2 separate regions of the Homo sapiens genome follow, and region 1 is linked to region 2. The links are contacts of gene promoters, found by promoter capture Hi-C in blood cells and fetal thymus (Javierre and others, 2016). All regions are on one chromosome and are shown on one strand. Each heading gives the region's core, a stretch centred on a gene start or on the middle of the fragment in contact. The rest is flanking DNA. Distances are from core to core; before and after follow the strand shown.

Region 1 (4,062 bases), core at 217-2,716, 73 kb before region 2:
ACACAGGTAAGGAGCCTGGTGTACAACAGGCACTCAGGGAGCCTCAACTTGAACTATTATTTTTTATTTTTATTGTTAGAGATAGGGTCTTGCTCTGCCGCCCGGCCTGGAGTGCAGCGGCACGATCTCGGCTCACTGCAGCCTTGCCCTCCTGGGCTCAAGTGAGCCTCCTACCTCAGGCCCCCGAGTAGCTGGGACCACAGGCATGCACCACCATGCCCAGCTGAGCTTGTGTGTTTGTTTGTTTTAGTAGAGACAGGGTTTTGCTATGTTACCCAGGCTGGTCTCAAACTTCTGGCCCCACGCTCTCCTGCCTTGGCCTCCCAAAGTGCTGAGATTACAATTGTGAGCCACCGTGAGCATCCAATGCTAATTATTTATTTTTAAATATTGTTACTCTGCCTGGGATGGGGCATTTGCTTCTCTGTCCTGCTTGCAGAACTGGGAGCTCCTCAAAGGCTGGAACCTCCCTTCTGCCCAACACCCCTACATCTTGGGCACTTTGCACCGTGAAGGTTTGTTGAATGAATTACTGACTGACTTGTGCTGGATCCCAAGTGAAGAGCCTTAAGACCCAAAGGTTGGTAAGATGAGGTTTAACCGAGATGGGCTGGAGCCTCCCTGGGGGGAACAGGCAGTGCTGGGACCCTCCCCTGCACAGCCAGAAGCCAAGACAAGGACTGCAGGCGCTGGCAGTGGGTGTGGTGCTGAGAATGGAGCTGGTGTGGCACATATGCTTAAGAAATTCCTGTTGGCATCTGGCGGGGTGGCGCTGGGTCAGCACTTTGCAGGAAGCCTCTCTCTGGGCAAGGAGGGAGCTAGGGGCTAAGGAGACAGGCACTTAGCCAGAGGCAAGCAAATCAAACACCAGAAGATGTCGCTTCTCTTCTTGGCCTGTTATTTCTAGGGTAACATGGTGGTTCCCCCGTAAGCTTGCTTGTCCAAGCCACTCTCCAATCTTGTCCGCCAGATCTGTGACCCCCAGGGACTGACCCTGATCCCGTTGTCCTCTGGCTCCTGGTTGGGTTTGGCCAATGGGAGGCCCATCAGAAGATTGGAGAGTGGGAGGAGAGAAACCAAGGCCAGGGAGAGAAAGTCACTTTCTCAAAGACAAACTCATTTAGTGGCAGAGCTGAGACATGATCCCCAAACCCCTGACGCAGATTGTGTGTGTGTGTGTGTGTGTGTGTGTGTGTGTGTGTGTGTGTGAAAATATACATGATATAAAATTCTCCATCGTAACCATCTGAAAGTGTACAGCTCAGTGACATTAAGTGCCTCCACCATGTGCTTGGGGACTTCCAGATCATCGAGAGCTAGCTCCAGAACACATTCGTGGCCCCAGAAGGGAAAACCAAACCTGCTAACCCTTGATCTTGGAGTTTTCAGCCTCCAGAACTGTGAGAAAATAAATGTCTATTGTTGAAGCCACACAGCCTGTGGTCTTTTGTGACAGCAGCCCGAGCTGATGAACACACCCACCAGCAGCCACGTGTGTGCGCCATCTTGGAAATGGGTGTCTCTGCCTCAATAAAGCCTTGAGATGACTGCAGCCCCAGCTGATACCCTGATTGTACCCTCGTGAGAGACCCTAGAGCAGAGCCACCCAGCTAAGCTGCTCTCCAATCTCTGACCCACAGAAACTGTGTGAGATCACATATATTTATGGTTGGTTTTAGGATATTTTGTTACGTGGCAGTGGATAACTAATACACCCACCAAGAAGGAGCCGTGCAGTCATTTAGTTCCCAGGCTTGGTTTGACCCAGCCCATGGAGGTGCTGTTTCCCTCTCCCTTCTGGAGCAGATGAAGCTCTGTGCTGTGGAGTGTTGGCTCTGGCTTTCCCAGAGCTCTGACCCATGAGACGTAGGAGGTGGATGGAAGCTAGCACAGTCTCATGTGACCCACTGTCCAGCTGTGGTTGATGTGATGCCATGACCATCTCAGAGGCCCGTCACCTTGTTTGTCCCTTTGCTCTCACTCTTGCCGTCCTAAGCTTGCACCCCATCAGAATAGCATTAGCCAGGAAACCCTGCCTCAGCCTCTGTGCTCCAGGTAACCTGGGCTAAAACAAAGAGCTGCCAATCAAGGAGCTCCACCTTCTCCTGATCAAGAGTTGACCCAAGTGAGGCCAGCAGCCTCTCTTACCCAGATTTTGAATCTGGGAAAATATGAAGAAATAGCAGGGAGACGATTCATGCCACAGGCAGTGCCCAGGCGAGCCGAGTTGAGCTGTTCTGTCATTTTTGTGAGTCATCCTCTTTCCTTCCCCAAACCCCCTTCGTGCTTGAGTTTTGGACTTGGTTTCTGTTGCTTGCAGCCAAAGATCTCTAACTCAGAGAGATACAGATTCTAGCTGTTATTTTTGCTTTTTAATTCAATGACTGATTTATGCTCAGCATATAGTTGATGTTCAACAAACACTTGTCAACTATGAGTGAATAACACACCCAGCATTCCGCAGGAGGCTCCCAGGCAGATGGGCACTTAATCAGGACTACTTTTTTTTTTTCAGGACTATTTTTAAAGTTCTGCAAGGAAAGACACTCTAAAAATTTCCCTTAGCAACTTTTCTAAACGTCTAGCAACACGATGTCATGGGTTTCTTTCTCACACCCGAGCCAGTTTTTACCTATTGCATCTAAAACTCTCTTCTTTCTTTCCTTGTTTTTTGTTTGTTTCATTCTTGTTATTCGTTGAACAAATCTCTGTTGTACACTATCTCTTCACCATATCCCACAGGGAGAACATAAATGATAGATGTCCCTTTGCCCTCGAGGAAAGAGACTGTTGGCTGGAAGTCAAGGGGCCTGAATTTTAGTCCCTTCCTGTTACTGGGCGTCAGTTTCCCCACTTACGAAATGAGGGCTTTGTGCTAGACTGGGCACAGCCAGGAGCTTTAATCCTGTGCCAATTCCTAGATTGCACTAAGGTCTAGGCTGAGGATTCTCAGGCAATGCTCAAGCTCAATGGGAGAGAGAGCTGGGATTGATTTCTGATGTCTGCCTAGGTGTAGGCAGGGAAAGTGCTATGTATTCGCCAACCCTGAGCTTGGCCATCTCAGAGTTCCCTGCAAGTTTCAGCAGTCTCTGACCTGGGGAAACTCAATGGGGGAGACATGGAATATTCACTCACAGACATCAAGTAGGTGGCAGTTGCAGCCAAGATTCACTGAGAGTTCTGAGCAGGGAACAGTAGCTGGGGGCCAAGGATCCTTTCCAGTTGGTAAATGGGTTGGGAGTTGCCTGGCTGGGGAGATGCAGAGATTTTGGCAGACAGATGGGTAGCTTTTCTAGGACGTTGAGAGAAGGCCTGGGGTGAATTGGGGATGTCAACTCAGTTAGTCCTTCTGGGCCTGAGGTGCATTCCAAGGTGTGGGAAGGGGTGTTAGAGGAGGGCGGTCCCAGCTGACCCCCTCCTCCCCTGAGGTCCCAGAGTCTTCTTTGGGTCTCGGACCTGGGCCCCCTTACTTGGAGGAATTAAAGTATCTTACTTTTCCCGGATTCTGAGCTTTGGGGGATTAGATTCGGTATGAGCCTCTGCTGGCATATGGAAAGGGCCTGTTGGCAACAATGATATCACAGCAATATCCACCCTGACCATCATGGGCTGAGCACTCATCACAGGCCCAGCGTGATGACAGCGACCTCCAGGACGCCCCTAGGAGTTGGTGCTGCCCTTGCCTCCTGCAGTCAGATCCCCAGAGGACAGTCAAAGCAACACTTGCCATCATCCATCAGACAATGCGCAGCCTTGCCTTCAATTTCCAGAGGCTCTCGTTGCTTCTAGAAGAAATCTGCATGCATTACCATGACTTTCAAGGCCCCACCCACCCCTCCATCTTATCGCGGACCTCTCTTCTATCCCCTCTGCTCCGTTCCCAATAGCTTTCCCTCTGTTCTTCGGACCCACTGACTTGTTTCTGCCGCAGGACTTTGCCCTTGCTGTCCCCCCAGCCTGGCACGCCTTCCCCCCAGATGTCTGCTTGGCTGGCTCTTCCTCATCCTTCGCTTCTGTCTTAATTCTTTTAAACACCAGTTGGCAGCGCCAACTCCTAGGGAC
Region 2 (3,553 bases), core at 757-3,256:
GCAGACGGGAAAGGGCCAATCCCTTTCGGGATAAACGCTGCCCTTCTCCTGGCCTCAGTCTTGCCATCTGTGACATGGTCGGGCCAGAGGCCATTGGCGCTTGAGTTGATAAGGCTTCCAGTGAGGGATTTCTAGGTGACGCTTGGGACATTACAAAGCTGACAGACCCCCTGCTTTCCCCGCTCCTAAGCCTGCAGGGAGCCCTCGAGGGCAGAAGCTGGGAGACCCCTGAAGACACCCCAAATGTCCCTCCTCCAGCTTCAAATAGAGCTGAATCTCATGGAAATGCAAATTCCCAGAGGGTTTTCAGGTGACAGAGGAGGGCTGCCAGGCGGCCTGGGGCTGGCAGAGGAGCTCCCCCGCCCCCGCTTCCCTCTCCAAGACCCTTGGTGGGGGAGGTGGGGGATCAGGCCTTCCTTCTGCGGCTCCAGCTTTTTGCCTGTGGATTCGGACCGACTGGCTGGGCAGAACTGGAGCTGGTCGGGCCAAAACAAGGAGGTGGGGGGGGGGCACTGACCTATGACCCCTCCTGTTTCAGTCTGCAAACTGCTCCCCTCCACACCCACTTCCCTTTTGCCAGACATTGTCAGCCCCAGAGGCTCCCGCCAGCCCCCCAAAAGCTCATAATTAAAAGCCCGAGGGGGCAGAGAAGGACCTGGCTGCAGGGGAGCCCGGCAAACCCAGCATCCTGGCGGAGGCGGGAGGCCCGCCGGCCTCTGGAAACCACGCGGCTGCCTCCCCACCGCAGCCATTCCCCGCTCTCCCTGGGGGTTCTCAGATGTTGCCAGATGGCAGAACTGAATCTGCTGAGACGTCACTCCAAAAAAGGAAAGTTGAACTGAAAAAAAAAAAAAAAATTCAAACTCTCCAACATCTTAGGAGAAAGCAGAAGAGGAGGGAGGGAGGGAGGCTCCAGGCCCAGGGCTCCCAGTGCCCTCTGCTGTTCAAAGAGATCTGCCCTGGTTGGAGAGGGCAAACCTGGAGGGGGTGGGAGGAGGGGGTAAATGAGGACACTGGGTTGTCAGGGCGGCCAGGGGGGCCAGGTTCCTGCTGGAGCGGAGAGTGTCTGCCTGTGCGTGGGGGAGCGAGCACATGTGTGCCGTCTGTGACTGCGTGCTTGTGCAGGCCGGGCGTGTGTGGCTCCCAGGGTCACGCTTTGGGATGTGTGTGTCTGTGTGTGTGTGTGGGGGGGGCGGGGGGGACACAGGCTCGTTGCATTGTCTCCGCATTTGTGTCCCTGAATGTCCCCAAGTGGGACTTCACTCAACACATTCGTGAGTCCCTACTGCGATAGGGCAGTGAACAAAATAGAAATCTCTGCCCTCAGGAAACTGGCATTCTAGCGTCTGTGTCCTCCGGGGTGCTGTGAACTCGCGTGGGTGTCCCAGTATTTGTCTGTGTGAGATCTGACATCTCCGGTCCGTGGTGGGTGGTGAGTCTGCAGTGTGTTCGCCCGGGCTGGGTCTCGGGTCTGGGGAGGCCCAGCGTGTTCCTGCCTGGAGAGGGCTCTGCGCTACTGTCTGCTCCCGTCCCCAAGTGCCCCACTGGGCGTGCTCCTAAAAGGCCCTGTGTAGGGCCCTCCCTGCGCGCCCCCTCCCCATCCAGCGGCCACTCCAGAGTTATAATTTAATAGCTGAAACGCGATTCCAGTGAGGTACTGGGGCTGGAGAGGAGGAGGAGGGCCCCCGGGCCCGCAGGAGAAGAGGGAGGGGAAGGCTGGGAGGCGCTTCCCCCCTCCTTCCTCCTCGGGGAGCTGCCAAAAAGAAACTCGGCGTCGCGCCCAAGTGTGTGCGTGCGTGTCTGTGTGTGTGGCGGCGTGCGCGCGCGAGTGGGGACGCGCAGGGCCTGGAGAGAAGGCGCGGGCCCTTTAAGGAGCCAGAGGGGGCCGGGCCGGGGCGCGTCGCTGCGGGCGGGGAGCCGGGAGCAGGGAGGCCGAGCCACCGCCTCCCGGGCTCGCGCCCCGCCCCCTCCTCCCCCTCCCGCCGCCGCCGCCGCCGCCGCCGCCGCCACCGCCGCCGCGGCCGCCGGGGAGCGCGGAGCCGCGGGCAGGCCGGGCCGCACCGGAGCCCCGCGTCCGCCGGCGCCCCGCCCGAGCCCTGCGCCCGCGCCCTGCGCTCCGCGATGCGCGCCAACTTGCGGGCCGGGGACCCAGGGCCGGCGCCCTAGGAGGCGGCGGCGGGAGGATCGCGTCCCGACCCGAGGCCGGGCCTGCTGCGCGCCCCCAGCCCGATCGGCACCGCCACTTGCCTGAGCGCCCCGGCGGCCCGAGCGCGCCCCAAGCCCGGGCGCCACCGCTGCCACCTCCGCGAGGTGAGTTGGGGCCGAGGGTCCCCGCGAAGGGCGGGGGGAGGCGCGGAGCGCGCTTCCGGGGGATCCGGGGAGGATCGGGCGGCGCACGCGGCGGAGTTGGCGGGGCCCCTGCACTCCCGAGTTGGCGCTCTCGGGGGGTGGCCTGCTGGGGAGCAAGGCGCCCCGCCGACACTGCGGCCCGCGTGCTCGGGGGCGCCGGGGAACTTAGGGGAACTCCAGCTCCCTAGCGAGGGGGCGGGAAGGAGGGAAGTGGCGTTGGGGTGGGCGGGGGGCGCGCTGGAAATGCACAGAGCGGCCCCCCACAGTGTGCGCCGGCTCTGGGGACTTGGCCGCCAGGCGTCCCTTGTACCCGGTGTAGCCCCGGACCTGGCGGGGCGACACTGCGCCTTATTTTCCATCGGGCAGCGCGGGTTTGAAAGCCCTTGGAGATGGTACCCCTAGCTCCCTGGCCTGGCTGTTGTGGAGGGGCGCATGAGGGTCTCTCACCAGCCGAGGGGGAGAGCCAGCCTTGTCCCTCCTAGGCGTGGGGCCACGGGGCGCTGGGCGGGGTCCCTCGGGAGAGTCGCCCCTGGTCCCCCTCCCCCGCGGGCCGGTGTTCCTGGTGTCTGGGCCTGCCTCCCGTGGCTGGTGACGCCTCATTGGGCCGCCTCCTAGTCCCTCCCCCGGGCTGTGCGGATACTTGGGATGCCACTACTTTGCGAAGTTGGAATTCAGAGCTGATCCCACTTGGGCACGACTGGGAAGACCCAGACCCTTGTCTAGAGGGCAGCTTCCTCAGAGGCCTGCGGGGAGTGAGGGCACCCGTGGGGTACGCCCTCCCCGCCCCAGACACTTGCAGGAGGAGCAAGCCGAGGGCGGGAGGGCACGGCGGGCGGGAGGGAGAGACAGGCTGTACCTGGGAGCTGCTGTCGCCCGGGCCCAATTAGCGTGGGGCGCCCGGCGTTATTTTTACATTGTAGGTTTATTTTTTTGGAAGCGAGTGTCCTCCCGCCGCCTGTCGCGCGCTCCGGCTCTCCGAGGGTCTGGTGCAGGCAGCGGGGGCGGATCTGTTCTGTCGGCTCAGCCTCCTCCCTTCCTCCCCCTCCTCCTCTCCCCCGTTGGTGAGAACTGGTTTTATTGTGATTATTATTATTTTTCCCTTTTTGCAGATTTGGAGGAAGGATGTGTGAGGGAGGGAAGAGGGGAGGAGGGGATAAGGGGAGGACCCTGTGGGCGGGGTGGGGGAGTTCTGGGCGCGTTGGGA

Evidence for each region. Contacts are between HindIII fragments. The CHiCAGO score rates a contact against its expected background, and 5 or more counts as called.
Region 1: a fragment that was not itself captured here is called in contact with the fragment with the promoter of NCOR2 in region 2 in 5 of 17 cell types (monocytes, M0 macrophages, M1 macrophages and 2 more); the score reaches 16.2 in monocytes.

The regions. Positions count from the first base shown.
Region 1 is chr12:124,638,483-124,642,544 of GRCh38, reverse strand. No RefSeq gene overlaps it. Among named protein-coding and RNA genes, the nearest start is that of NCOR2, 73 kb to the right of the region's middle. The HindIII fragment of the contact is 1,064 bases long and covers 935-1,998 here.
Region 2 is chr12:124,566,065-124,569,617 of GRCh38, reverse strand. NCOR2 (nuclear receptor corepressor 2) reads left to right here and starts at 2,006. Exons shown (of 49, transcript NM_006312.6): 1 at 2,006-2,310. RefSeq lists enhancers at 1-553, 554-1,414, 1,581-1,630 and silencers at 1,751-2,000, 2,111-2,470, 2,491-2,600, 2,741-2,960, 3,161-3,260. The HindIII fragment of the contact is 7,570 bases long and covers 1-3,553 here.